Linked DNA regions of Homo sapiens: region 1 is linked to region 2. Evidence: promoter capture Hi-C in human tissues and cell types (Jung and others, 2019). All regions are on one chromosome and are shown on one strand. Each heading gives the region's core, a stretch centred on a gene start or on the middle of the fragment in contact. The rest is flanking DNA. Distances are from core to core; before and after follow the strand shown. Region 1 overlaps RBAK-RBAKDN (RBAK-RBAKDN readthrough). Region 2 holds the start of MMD2 (monocyte to macrophage differentiation associated 2).

Region 1 (7,699 bases), core at 5,173-7,672, 93 kb before region 2:
AAGCTGTGACTCAGTTCACAAGCATAGGTGGAGGATGAGGTTTTGGTATCTGAATGCCTAAAGAAGTAAATAAAATCGAGGGCAGAAAATAAGTCCAAGGTATTTTTAAAGCAAGGAAGGAAAGAAAATGGAAGATAAAAGGAATGAACATAAAAGTCTCAAGTTGATTTTTATGTCAGACTTCTGAATGCCCCAAAACAAAACAATTCTGTAAGGCCGGGAGCCTCAGGACTGTAATCTCAGCACTTTGGGAGGCTGAGGTGGGCAGATCACTTGAGGCCAGGAGTTCAAGACCAGTGTGGTCAACATGGTGAAACCCTGTGTCTACTAAAAATATAAAAATTAGCCAGGCGTGGTGGCATGTGCCTGTAATCCCAGCTACTTGGGAGGCTGAGGAAGGAGAATCGCTTGAACCTGTGAGGTGGTGGTTGCAGTGAGCTGAGATCATACCACTGCACACCAGCTTGGGTGACAGAACAAGATTCTGTCTCCAAAACAAACAAACAAACAAACAAACAAACCCAAAACAATTCTGTAATGGCAAGGGAGTAAATAAGTTACCAATAATGCTGGAGAAAGAGGAAGTGAATGGGTCTCCAGTACCGGTTAGAATGAAAAAATCCCTACCAATGTAAATCAAATGTAAAATCAACAAAAGAGTTCATGTATGTGTGCGGGAAGGAAAGTGATATTTGGGGGTTGGGAGGTGTTACTGAGGGTACTGAATACATATAAACAACTCTTTAGTCTCTCCCAAAGGTCTGGGATGAGCATTTTTTAACCTTTGATACGCTACTAACTTACCTGGACTATGTTGACATGGAAATTCACCTCCCATTATCCACGGCTCCTCTCCCTGCTCCAACTTAATGATGACGTTTGGCTTGGTGGTATCATATCCTGTTAATGGGAAAAGAAGGAGGACTTGGGGAAGCTGCTTGGCTTCAGAATCTCTGAAGTACAAGATGTTGCCACCTCATAAGCTGCATAACAGAAGTGCTCCATTTTTTACCTTATCAAAGTTAGAACCTTTCAATGAATAATAATATAAACACTCCAGCTAGTGCCCACAAGGAATTAAATGGTGTCATCACTTATTTCTTCAAACTCAAGGATAAAACCCCATTCAACTGAGAGCATTCAGAAAGCAAGCTATTCTCACCCACAGAAACTAGATGGCTATAGTTCTCCAACATCACATCCCTGTAAGTTATCTTCTCATCAGGGTCCAGCTGCTGCCACTCCTCCTGGGTGAAATCCACAGCCACATCTTTGAATGACACTGGCCCCTGTAATGGCAACATGATCAGAATTGGGAGATACGGAAAAGGGATAGGGGGATAACGTTTTACAAAGCCCACCGGTAAAGTTAACCATAAACATTGTATACCTTATTTTATGTTACAGATTATGGAAGGGAAATCATATTGGAAACACATATCCTTTGGGGTTATAATACATAATATATAAAATATATAATATATATAAATATATATAATATATATAAAAAATATATATATATTGCCCCACAAAAATAAAAACCCAAAACACAACTGAGCTCCTATTTTGCAAGTGAACTAGCTGAGCTTTGGGGACATGAGATGAGTGAAACACCATGCCTGCTCCCAAAGTGAACAACCTAAAAAGGAGATAAACATGTAAACAAACACAAGCATTTTACTCCTTGTCACTTCTTTTAGTCTTCCTTGCTGCCAGGCCCTCCCCTTGCCCTGGACCTCTTCATGTTGGAGTGCCCACCACTCAGCTCCTGGTCCTCTTCCTCCTAACTCACTGCTCTGGGGCTCTCACCTAGTTTCAGCTCCTTGTTCTTTTGGCTCTTTTATTCTCATAGCCAGTGGCCTCTGGCTATCTGCATGGCTGAGTTTTATCTCAAACATCTCAATCTTGGAGCAATAAATATTCGTTAAATGAATGAATGCCCAAAGCTGTTATTAGAGTAATGCAGACAAGGTGCAGAATGATTTAACAAAAGAGGATCAAATTATTTTAATTTTATGCCATCAGATTAGGCTTCACAGACTCAGTTAACTTGAAGTCTTTAAAGATGAATTGTGCATTCTATGGGATGAAGGGGAAGAAGAATATGATGAGGTGTACAAAGTACCAATGGCAAACGGGAAGCAGCTTCAATTTTTAAGTGGTTGGGGCTGGGCATGGTGGCTCATGCCTATAATCCTAGCACTTTGGGAGGCCAAGATGGGAAGATCGTTTGAGCTCAGGAGTTCGAGACCAGCTTGGGCAACATAGTAAGACCTCATCTCTGCTAAAAATAAATTAAAAAAAAAAAATTGGCTGGGCATCATGGCACACGCCTGTAGTTCTAGCTACTTGGGAGGCTAAGGCAGGAGGATCACTTGAGCCTGGGAGGTCAAGGCTGCAGTGAGCTGTGAATGCAACACTGCACTCCAGCCTAGGCAACAGAGTGAGACCTTGTCTCAAAAAAAAAAAAAAAAAAAAAGAAAAATGCAAAACTCCTGGGCTCCAGCAATCCACCTGCCTTGGCCTCCCAAAGTGTTGGGATTACAGGCTTGAGCCAGCACGCCCTGCCCAAACTTGTAGTTTAGAAAAAGGAAGTGCCCAGTAAGCAGGCTGCATTATCCTATTATTTATAAAGAACATATCAACAAGGGGTTCAAATCCAGTGATACAGCTAGGACCATGTAGATCCCAAGAGATAGCAGAGGCAGGGCCGCTAGGCTGTGGGCTGAGAAACTAAAGCAGAACATCCAAGCTTATCCACAGTCAGGCCACAGGAGCTGATAAAATCACCGAGAGAGAGTAATAACCTTCTGGGTTAAGTTAGTCCAGAAGGCAAGGAGGTAGTAGGGGTTAGAAGACTGATCAACCAATAAATAACATAAAATTACATGCCAATACCACTTACATCAATACAAAAACCCAAAATGAAACATAATCAAACAAAATCCAGTACCAGATTAAAAACATAATATACAATAGCCAAATGGGACTTATTCCAATAATATAGACTAGTTTAATATTTGGAAATCTATTAATATGATAAGCCACTATAACACAGCAAAGAAGAAAAATCTTGTATCCGTGAAGATACCTGAAAAAGCTTGACAGAAAAAGCTGATTTAAAAAAACAAACTAAAGAAAATAGAAACTGATGGATACTTCATTAACATCAATAACATGTATATACACAAATATAAATATTGCACCCTAATATGCAATAGTATGTATGATATATATGTGACATATGTATTTCAATTACACACAAGCACATATATATACAGTTTGTGTGTATATACACGCACGCACACACACACACACACACACACACACACACACATTTATGCCTCAGTCTTCTCGGTCCAAAAGTCAGGATTTTACTTAACAGGGAAAAACTACATACCTTCCTACTAAGATCAAGAACAAGGTATTAATAAAATGCTCATTATCTACAATTAGAGAAGATAAAACAATTAGAGGAATATAACTAAGAAAAAGTAAAAGTGCTCGGGCACGGTGGCTCACGCCTGTAATCTCAACACTTTGGGAGGCCGAGGCGGGCAGATCACCCGAGGTCAGGAGTTCAAGACCAGCCTGGTCAACATGGTGAAACCCCCATCTCTACTAAAAAACAAACAAACAAAAAAAATTAGTTGTATTATTAAGGTCAACTTACCCTACCTAGGGTAAGTCAGTTACCCTAAATTACTTTATAAATATGCAACCCCAGTAAAAATACCAAAAAGCTTTTTCCTGGAACTAGATAAGCTGACACTACAGTTCATATGAGGTGGAAGAAAATCAAAAACAGCTCAGGGAAAAACACCATTTGGACATGGACAAAACTGGATCCAGGCCAGGTGCAGTGGCTCATGCCTGTAATCCCAGCACTCAGGAAACTGAGGCAGAAGGACTGCTTGAGGCCAGGAGTTTGAGACCAGCCTTGGCAACATAGCAAGACCCTGTCTCTACAAAGAAAAAAATATATATATTAGAAAAAATATATATAGAGAGAGACATGAGGACTTCTGCCCTCAGTTGTGATAAACTAACAGGTACTGGATATACCCTCCAACCTGAAATGGCACATAACAAAGAACAGCAGCAACAACAAAATCAAAAACAGAAAGAAAAATAAAACGGAGAACATATATGAAGCAATGGTTTTTTTTTTTTTTTTTGAGGCAAAGTCTCACTCTTGTCTTCTAGGCTGGAGTGCAATGGCACAATCTTGGCTCACTGCAACCTCCGTCTCCCGGGTTCCAGCGATTCTCCTGCCTCAGTCTCCCAAGTAGCTGGGATTACAGGCGTGTACCAGCATGCCTGGCTAATTTTTGTATTTTTAGTATAGAAGGGGTTTCACTATGTTGGCCAGGCTGGTCTCAAACTCCTGACCTTGTGATCTGCCCTCCTTGGCCTCCCAAAGTGCTGTGATTACAGGTATGAGCCACCACGCCCGGGCTGAAGCAATGGTTTTCAAGGCACTGATTATCAGGCAGTAGAGTTATCTATGAGTGATGGGAAATAAACAAGGTGAACCAATCAACTTCTGCCTTGAGTGTTTCCAGGCCACAGAGCAGGGAAGAAGAACAGAGACAGATGTGAGGTGTAAGAGTTGCGAGATGGGAAAATGGGCAGGAAATTACAACCATAAGGAAGAAAAGAATCAGTCCATCAAAACTGGCCCAGAATTGACAGAGTTTACAACCCACACAGAGCACTGAGAGAGTTCATCATTCTATTCCACATGTTCAAAAAAATTGAGACAGGCAAGATGTAAAAAAGACCCACGCTAACCTTCTACAGATAGAAACTACAATATCTGAGATGAAAATTATACTGGACAAGATTAACAGCATCGTGGAAAAAAGAGATTAGTGAATATAAAGACAGCAACAGAAGTTACATAAAATGAAACAGAGAAAAAAGAATTAAAAGCAAATAAAGAGCAACAGTGTGTTGTGGGAAAATTTCAAGTGGCCTAATATACAGGCAACAAGAATCAATGGAGGGGAGGTGGTGGGTATGTGAAGAAATAATGATAAAAATGTTCCCAAAGTGATGACACCATAAACCCAAGATCCAAGAAGTTCAGTGATCCCCAAAACAGAAACATGAAAAAAATGATACCATGACATATTGCAATCAAATTACCCAAAACTAGTGATAAAAAGTTTACAACATAAGGGGGGAAAGAAAAAAAGACATGTTATATACAGGGGAACAAAGATGAATATGAGATCAGATTTCTCTTAGAAAAAAATGTAAGCAGGAAGACAATAGAGAAACATATTTAAAGCACTGTGGAGAAATATCCAGCAGAAACACCTTTAAAAGCTAAGACACAATGAAGACATTTGCAGACGTACAAGAATTCATCAACTAGAAGAAATGTTAAAGAAAGTCCTTGAGGCAGAAGTAAAATGACAGCAAATAAAAATTTAGATTTACACAAAGGAATGAAGAGTACCAGAAATGGTAACTGTGTATTTTCTCTCATTACTTAAATCTTTTTAAAAGATAACTGGGCTGGGTGTGGTGGCTTACACCTGTAATCCCAGCACTTTGGGAGGCTGAGGCAGACAGGTCACCTGAGGTCAGGAGTTTGAGACCAGCCTGGCCAACATGGTGAAACCTCATCTCTACTAAAAATACCAAAATTAGCCGGGTGTGGTGGTGGGTGTCTGTAATCCCAGCTACCCGGGAGGCTGAGGCAGGAGAATCACTTGAACCTGGGAGGCAGAGGTTGCAGTGAGCCAAGATCGCACCCCTGCACTCCAGCCTGGGGGACAGAGTGAGACTCCAACTCAAAATCAATCAATCAATCAATCAATCAATCAATCAAAGATAACTGTTTAATTAACAACAACGTAATAGATTCTGTGTGGCACTGATACCACCTGTAAAAATAAAATGAACAACGGTGTAAAGACCAAGAGGAGAGAAATGAAAGTATCCTATTGTAAGCTTCTCTTACTCTAAGAAAAATGGTATATCACTTAAGAATAAACTATGATAATTAAAGTTGCATACTATAAATTCTAACTCACTAAAATAACAAAACAGTGTGATAGCTAAAAACTCAACAAAAGATATAAAGTAGAATCATAAAAAATTATCAATTAATCAAGAGGAAGGAAGACAAACAAAGACATTTTAAAAAGAAACAAAGAAGATGAGACTAAAAGAAAGCAAAGGCAATGGACTATAACCTAACTAGTTTTATCAATAATTACATTACATGTAAACAGTCTATACATCCCCAATTATGAGGCAGAAATAGACTGATGAAAACAAGCAAGATCCAAATCTTGCTGCCTACAAGAAATAATACTTTAGATATAAAGATGCAAATACGTTATAAGTAAAAGGATGGAATAAGATATACCATGCATGCATTACTCAAAAGAATGCTACATAAATAACAAAGTACATTTCAGCCTGGAATACTAGCAGGGATAAGGAAGGCCATTTTACAAAGTGGTTAATTAATCAACAGGATGTAATAACCTTGAACATTTATGTATCTAATATAATACATAAAGCAAAAAGTGGTAAAATTGCAAAGAGAAAGAGAACCACAAATGCAGCAGATTTCAATCCCCTCTCCCCAACAATTGATACAAGTAGGCACACAATCAACAAGGATATAATACACCTGAACAACACAACCAACCAACTTGATCTCATTAACATTTATCAAACACTCCACCCAACCAGAGCAGAACAAGCCATCTTCTCAAGCATGCACAGAAGTTTCCCAAGACAGATCCTATTCTGAGCCATAAATTTAAGAGGTCCCATGTAGTGTTCCAGACAAAAATTCACCAACTAAATCTAATCATGAAGAAAGATCAGGGAAACCTAAATTTAAAGACTTCTATAATATCATTGGCCTGTATTCTGCAAATATTATAATGGCACTGAGGAACAAATCCGTATTAAACAGCCTTAAAAAGCATGAAAACTAAAGGCAATTGACAGTCCTAGACTGAATCTTCTACCAAAAATTAAAAATTGCTATAAAGGAAATTATTGGGAAATTGGCAAAACTGGAAAATGAACTACAGTTTAGATAAAAGTATTAAATCAATGATAAATTTCCTGAATTCAATTACTGTGCTATGGGTATTTAATAGAAAGTTCTTGATTTTATGAGATATAATCTAAAACTTTATAAGGTAAAGAGGCATGACAAATCATACCCACTCTCAAACAGTTCAGAAAAAAAATATATAAAAATATGTACACACATATATGTATATATGCATATAAATGATTAATGTGGGAAAATGTTAAGAATGAAGTATCTGAACAAAAGGAAGTAGCTGGGATTTCTTTGTAAAATCCGTGCAATTTTTCTGAAAATTTGAAATGATTTCAAAATAAAATGCTGAACAGAAAATAATGCTATCAAATATATATTGTATGTATAGATTTGCTATCAAATATATCAAATATATTTCAAAAGGACTCAGAAACCAACTTAAAGGGATTTTGTCTGGCCAAAGATGGAGCCATTTAATTTTCAAAAAGAATCACAACTTTGATGTACTGAAATATTTACTATCTGTTTAAACCCACGAGCTCATAATGGTAACAAAACAAAAAAACCTTCCTGCTTAGAAGCCTACTCAACATTTTAGAAACTGTCTTTCCTGCATGAATTACATAACCAAATAGAGAACAGAAATTTATCTTT
Region 2 (7,214 bases), core at 2,297-4,796:
CGAGGTCTCGCTTGTTTTGTGACTTGTGACGCACAGCATCCCAGCTGGGACACGCAAATGTAGATGCCAGACACGCGGCAGAAACAAGGCTTCAAGAATGGGACTCCTCCTGACTATGCACCAATGCCTAAAAAGTCATTTCTTCTGTTTCATTTCCCTCCTCCTCCTCTTCCTTCTCCTCCTCCTCCTCTTCCTCCTCTTCTTCTTCTTTCTTCTTTCTTCTTCTCTTTTCCTTTTTCAGACAGAGTCTTGCTCTGTCACCCAGGCCGGAGTACAGTGGCACAATCTCGGCTCACTGCAGCCTCTGCCTCCCGGGTTCAAGTGATTCTCATGGCTCAGCCTCCCGAGTAGCTCGGATTACAAGCGTGTACCACCACCCCCTGCTCATTTGTTTTATTTTTAATAGAGATGGGGTTTCACCATGTTGGCCAGGCTGGTCTGGAACTCCTGACCTCAGGTGATCCACTTGCTTTGGCCTCCCAAAGTGCTGGGATTAACAGGCGTGAGCCACCGTACCTGGCCCTTGTCTTTTTTTTTTTTTTTAAGAGAGGGTCTCACTCTGTCGCCTAGGCTGGAGTGCGGTGGTGCCATCATAGCTCATTGTAGCCTCCAACTCCTGGGCTCAAGCGATCTTCCTGCTTCAGCCTCCTGAGGAGATGGGACTGCAGGCGCATGCCACCATGCCTGGCTAATTTTAAAATTTTTTGTATAGATGGGGTTTCACCATGCCAAGGTTGGTCCTGAATTCTTGGCCTCAAGCAATCTTTCTGCTTTGGCCTCCCAAAATGCTGAGATCACAGGCATGAGCAGTGGCTTACCCCACCTGGCTTAAAAAAATATAGATAGATAGGTGGATAGATAGATAGATAGATAGATAGATAGATAGATAGATAGATGAGGCTGGGACGGAGGCTGAGATCCTGGAGGCAGAGGTTGGAAAACCAGGAGTTCTCATGTCCCAGGGCAGAAGAGTGTCTCAGCTCCAGGAGAGAGAGAGACCATCTGCCACTTTCTTTCTTTCTTTCTTTTTTTTTTTTTAGAGGGAGTCTCGCTCTGTCACCCAGGCTGGAGTGCAGTGGCGCGATCTTGGCTAACTGCAACCTCCGCCTCCCAGGTTCAAGCGATTCACCTGCCTCAGCCTCCCGAGTAGCTGGGACTTATAGTCCCAGGATGGTCTCGATCTCTTGACCTCGTGATCCGCCTGCCTTGGCCTCCCCAAGTGCTGGGATTACAGGCATGAACCACCGTGCCCGGCTGCATCTGCCACTTCTAATCCATCATCAGGGTGGTCTGGTGGCCTTTGCCTCCTAAGCACTCCTGTTCCCTCTTCTGGTCCCCACCTCAGCCATCCCCCACCCCACCCCCCAGCCCTCAGCCCTGCCATGGCCTCTGAAGGCATCTACTTATAACCCTCTGGTCCTCCCCAGTGGAAGTGGCGAAATAAATTAGATGGAGTCAGCAACACCTGTAATCTCCCCACTTTGGGAGGCTGAGGCGGGCAGATCACCTGAGGTCAAGGAGTTTGAGACCAGCCTGGCCAACATGGTGAAACCCCATCTCTACTAAAAATACAAAAATCAGCTGGGCATGGTGGTGCACGCGTGTAGTCCCAGCTACTTGGGAGGCTGAGGCACGAGAATCGTTTGAACCCGAGAGGCAGAGGTTGTAGTGAGCTGAGATGGCGCCACTGCACTCAAACCTGGGCGACAGAGTAAGACCCCGTCTCAAAAAAAAAAGAAAAAAAGGTGAAGTCCTTTGTCTTTTTCCCACTTCTGGTCCTAGCTCCCTGGGGGCAGAGGGAGTGGGTGGGGTTATCTTCTGAATGTTCAGCAGGATCTCAAATAAAGCATTACTGTATTAATAAAAAGGAATAGGGGCTGGGGCTTGGGAAGGAGGGTGAAGTGTGTGTGCAAACGAAGGGCCTTCTCTTGGATCTGGGGACCAATCCTAGGGTTCCTCAGGTGCCGCTGGCATGTCTTTCACATGGAAGCCTGTCTTCCCTCCATCAGCCCCCCGGGGTTCCAAGCCTCCCATAGGGTGGTTGGTTTTCCAAAGCCCAGAACCTGGGCCAGGTCTCCTACGGGAGAAAGCTGGAATTTGTACTCGGGAATCCAGCCACCAGATGCAAATGACCCTGTCATGGCGGTCAGGAGGGTCCTCAGAGTCATGAAGTCTTGGGGGAAGAGGGTTTTCCCAGAGGCCCTGACCCTTCCCGGGCAGGTCCCATAGGGGCCCTTGTGCCTAGCAGGGACGTGGCAGTAGGGAGCCAGGCAGTGGGGGGAGCAAGCAAGCCACAGGCAGGCGGTAGGTGCTGGGCCCAGCTACACTGGGGACGACGGGCACAGTGTCCGCTGTCCTTCCAGCCAAGTTGGGGCCAGCGGGGTCGGTCCAGCCCTGTCTAGCCCTGGAGGGCTTTTTTCTCCTCACTGGAAAAAGTACTGGTGGAGGATACCTGGGAAAAAGGGGCTGGATTGGGAAGTCCCCTATCCACTTCCTACTCCCTCCACCCCCCACCAACCTCACTTTCCAGTCCCCCTACCCTCGGGTCCCCCACTCCCCACCAACTCCTCCACTTCCCACTCCCTCCACCCCCAGGTCCCCCGCTCCCTCCAACACCCCCACTTCCCACTCCCCCCACCCCCAGGTCCCCCACTCCCTCCAAGACCCCCATTTCCCACCTCCACCAACCTCGGAGTCCCTCTCTTCCCACTAACCCCCTCACTCCCCCCCCAACACCCCGACTTCCCACTCCCTCCACCTCCAGTTCCCCTTCTTCCCACCAACCCCCCACTTCCTCCACCCCCAGGTCCCCCACTCCCCCCAACCCCCCACTTTCCACTCCCTCCACCCCCCAACACCCCCATTTCCCACTCCCTCCACCCCCAGGTCCCCCACTCCCCCCAACTTCCCCCACTTTCCACTCCCTCCACCCCCAGGTCCCCCACTCCCCCCAACCCCCCACTTTCCGCTCCCCCACCCCCAAGTCCCCCACTCCCCACCAACGCCCCCACTTCCCACTCATCCCACGTCCATTCCCACTCTCCTTACCCCCCACTTCCCACTTCCCCCAACCCCTCCAGCACCCCCTGTTCCCACTCCCGTCCCCTTCCCACTCCCCGACTCCCTCAGCCCCGCAACTTTGCATTCCACCCACCTGGCGCCCCCGCCTTCCCAATCCTTCCCACTCCCCCTACTACCACTTCCCGCTCCCCACCCCACCAACCCCCCACCTCCTGGCTTCCAGGGAGGGCACCGGGAAAAGGGGCCGGGGCCAGGGCCGCCCCAGGCCTGGGCGATGGGTGGCTCGCGCGCGCAGCCAGGACCCCCCCCGTCCCGCCCCCACTCCTTACGCCCACTTCCTCACCCCCACCTCTCCCACCCCCCCATCTCCCCACGACCCTCCTCCACCTCAGCGGAGGCGGCGGGGTCGCGGGAGGGAGGGGGCCGGGCTTAGGCGATTGGCAGCGCGAGCCCGGGAGCCCCCCCGTGCCCCCGCCCGCCCCGCCCCCGCCACCATCTGCTCGGGATTTGGCGTCGGCGGCTCCGGGCGCCTCCAGCTCCGGCTCGGGCTCCGGCTCCGGCTCCGGGCGCCGACCAGGTCCCCTTGGCCCCCGCCGCGCGCCCTCCAACCTGCTGCTGCCGCCGCCGCGCCCCCCAGGCTCTGCCAGCTACCCGCGCTCTGAGCCCGGGGCCAGATTCCCATGGAAGCGCCGCGATGTTCGCCCCCCGGCTGCTGGATTTCCAGAAGACGAAATACGCGAGGTGAGCGGCGGCCGCGGAGGTCCGCGGGGAGGGAGGGAGGGGCGCGCGGCGGCGGGGGCCGCGGAGGCCACCTTGGTTCTCGGGCCCCGCCGCCCGGAGCGCTAGAGGGGATCGGCGGACCCCTGACCCCCGCCCGAGAAAACCAGGACCCAGGCAGCCTCGTCTTCTCGCTGGGATGGAGTAACCGGGGCGCCCGCGCCTCCTCGCTGGGTGCCATTGGGCAAGTCGCTTCACTTCTCTGAACCTCATTTCCACGTTTGCAAAACGGGGGTTATGCGAGTCCCCGTGTCCTGGGTCGCCGTGAGGATTAAGCGAGCTGGTCCTTGCAGAGCACTTTGCGCAGCGCCTGGAGCCCAGGCCAGCTACGCTCGGGCAGTTACGCTCGGTCTCTCTTGGGCACTCTTGTTCATGGTAAAAGGCGTTGGTACCACCTCTGTCCACCCTTCCAGCAAGTCGGAGGAAAGAGTAAGTGCTCTTTTCAGATGGAGAAACTGAGGCTCGGGGTGCGGTGGGGGGAGGCACCTGTACATCCTGGTCTTTTCATAGTGTGAACTCCGTGGTCCCCTCAGAACCTCCGTCTCTTTTGTAAAATGGTGATTAACAGACATTGTGATATCTGAGTAGAAGTTAGGCTCCTGTTGCTTGGAATTCCAGTGAAGAAGGTGGGCGTGGGGAGGGGGTTTCTCCTTTTACATATCTTTAAGATTTTGTTGGGAGATGTGCTTGCCTGGAAGCTGGCATGAAAAATCCCCTCCTAAAGTTGCTCCTCGGTCCCCAGTGGTCTTCGGCGAGCACAGACCCGTCTGCTGGGAGCAGCCCGCGGGGGCCTCTTTGGAGGGGGCACCAGGCTGTCCTCCAGGTCACCTTTCCCCCTCTGCCACCTGGGGTCCCCTGCCTTCGTGAACAGAGGGGCCTGGTGTGTGCTGAGGCTCCAGTGGGTGGTGAGTGGGAGATGGGCTGGCAGTATTCTTCCTACTCACATCAGTGTGGCTTGTCACTTGCAACTGGTTGTTGAGAGTGCCCTGGTGCTCCTGAAGTCTCCACAAGTTCTGGTCATATTGAGCACAGCTTGACAAGAGGAGCTCAGGGCTAGGATGGTGTCCAGGGTAGGGAAGGCTGGCGGACAGGACGGAACCCTTCCTTCCCCCTCAGTCTCACCCTCTGTTTCCCCCTGGGGGACATGATGAGTCTATCTCTCCTAAATGGGGAATCCCACCCAGAGATGTGATGCACTTGGGAAGGACTTGAGGATAAGTTCCTGCGGATTGACTCTGTTGACCAGATTGTGTGACTGGACTGGACTTACTTTTTTTTTTTTTCTGAGATGGAGTCTCGCTCTTGTTGCCCAGGCTGGAGTGCAATGGCATGATCTCGGCCCACTGCAACCTCCACCTCCTGGTTTCAAGCGATTCTCCTGCTTCAGCCTTCCGAGTAGCTGGGACTACAGGCACCTGCCACCATGCCCGGCTAATTTTTTGTATTTTTAGTAGAGACTGGGGTTTCACCGCGTTAGCCAGGATGGTCTCAATCTCTTGACGTCGTGATCCCCCCGCCTCGGCCTCCCAAAGTGCTGGGATTACAGGCATGACCCACCGCCCCCGGCCTTTGTTTTTTTTCTTTGAGACAGGGTTTTGCTCTGTCACCCACACTAAGGCTGGAGTGCAGTGGCACAATCATGGTTCACTACAGCCTCAAATTCCTGGGCTTGAGCGATCCTCCTGCCTCAGCCTCAAGTAGCTGGGATTCCAGGTATGGACCACGACAATACCCAGATAATTTATATATATATATATATATTTTTTTTTTTGAGACAGTCTCACTCTGTTGCCGACTCTGGAGTGCGGTGGCGTGATCTCAGCTCACTGCAACCTCCACCTCCCGGGTTCAAGTGATTCACCCGCCTCAGCCTTCCGAGTAACTGGGACTACAGGCGCCTGCCACCAAGCCTGGCTAACTTTTGTATTTTTAATAGAGGCGGGGTCTTGCCATGTTGCCCAAGCTGGTCTTGAACTCCTGGGCTCAAGTGATCCTCTCACCTCGGCCTCCCAAAGTGGGCACTTGGACTTGTAAAGGCTGGCTCCAGGGGATTTTGTGAGACGTAAGTTGGTGGACTGTTCACGGGAAAGAGAGAAACCCTGGGTTTAAGGCTGCCGACGTGGACATGAAGGGAAGGAGCTCTGAAGTCTCAGCAACCAGCCCGGGCCTGTCCCACACCTGCTGTGTGACCTTGGTAGATGTCTCAACCTCTCTTGACCCCAGTGGGTTGATGTGTAAAGTCATGAGAGCTGGTCTAAATGGTCTCTAGATTTGGACACTTGCGCTGGCTGCTCTGGAATTGGAATAGGGATCTGGAGCTGGAGCACGGGCCAGTCTTTCATGCTTGGGCCAATGCAGCTTCTATGGGTGATGGGTCCAGGGAGGAAATGGATCGCATGGATTAGTTCTATTTCTGTTCCCTTCCTCGTTGTGCAGTCTTTACAACTGTACAGTCCACAAATTAGGTCTGTAGTAAAGGCTTCTTGATTAAGTGATTTTTTTTTTTTTTAAAGATAGGATCTACTCTATCACCCAGGCTGGAATGCAGTGGTGTGATCATAGCTCACTGCAGCCTCAAACTCCTAGGCAAACATGATTCTCCTGTCTCAGCCTCCTGAGTAGCTGGGACTACAGGTGTGCACCACCATGCCTGGCTAATTAAAAAAAAAGTATCTGTAAAGATGGGGTCTCACTATGTTGCCCAGGCTGGTCTTGAGCACCTAGGCTCAAGTGATCCTCCTGCCTCAGCCTCCTGAAGTGTTGGGATTACAGGCATGAGCCACTGCACCCAGCTGATTGAATGAATTTAATGGTATAATCCAGGGCTGTCCATGAGTAATATACAAGCCACAGATGTGGCTTTATTTTATTTATTTAGTTTTGAGTTGGAGTCTCACTCTGTCACCCAGGCTGGAGTGCAATGGCGCAATCTCTGCTCACTGCAACCTCCGCCTCCCAGGTTTAAGCGATTCTCCTGCCTCAGCCTCCCAAGTAGCTGGGACTACAGATGCCCGCAACCACGCCTGGCTAATTTTTGTATTTTTAGTAGAGGTAGGGTTTCACCATATTGGCCAGGCTGGTCTCGAACTCCTGACCTCAAATGATCCACCCACCTTGGCTTTCCAAAGTGCTGGGATTAGAGGAGTGAGCCACCACGCCCGGCCAGCTTTAAATTTTCTAGTAGACACTCAGTTTAATGTGTGCCTAATATTCCATCTTGTTATAAGAAAGTAAAAATAAACAGGTGAAATTATTATAATTTTTAGAATATATTTTAGTTAACTCTTTATATCCAAGGCATTATTATATCAGTATACAATGAATATGAACAAATTATTTAGGAGATATTTTACATTTTTTTCCCCACAAGTCTTCATCTAATGTGCATTTTATACTTACAGCCCGTCTGAATTTGG

Evidence for each region. Contacts are between HindIII fragments. The study calls those that stand out against the background at their distance.
Region 1: a fragment that was not itself captured here is called in contact with the fragment with the promoter of MMD2 in region 2 in 2 of the 25 tissues and cell types used here (IMR-90 fibroblasts and lymphoblastoid cells).

Annotation. Positions count from the first base shown.
Region 1 is chr7:5,050,885-5,058,583 of GRCh38, reverse strand. RBAK-RBAKDN (RBAK-RBAKDN readthrough) reads right to left here. Exons shown (of 6, transcript NM_001204513.3): 3 at 1,163-1,289; 4 at 805-900. RBAK (RB associated KRAB zinc finger) reads right to left here. Exons shown (of 5, transcript NM_021163.4): 3 at 1,163-1,289; 4 at 805-900. Among named protein-coding and RNA genes, the nearest start is that of RBAK-RBAKDN, 8.9 kb to the right of the region's middle. The HindIII fragment of the contact is 3,136 bases long and covers 4,855-7,699 here.
Region 2 is chr7:4,955,519-4,962,732 of GRCh38, reverse strand. MMD2 (monocyte to macrophage differentiation associated 2) reads left to right here and starts at 3,546. Exons shown (of 7, transcript NM_198403.4): 1 at 3,546-3,762. The coding sequence starts at 3,716. The HindIII fragment of the contact is 48,661 bases long and covers 1-7,214 here.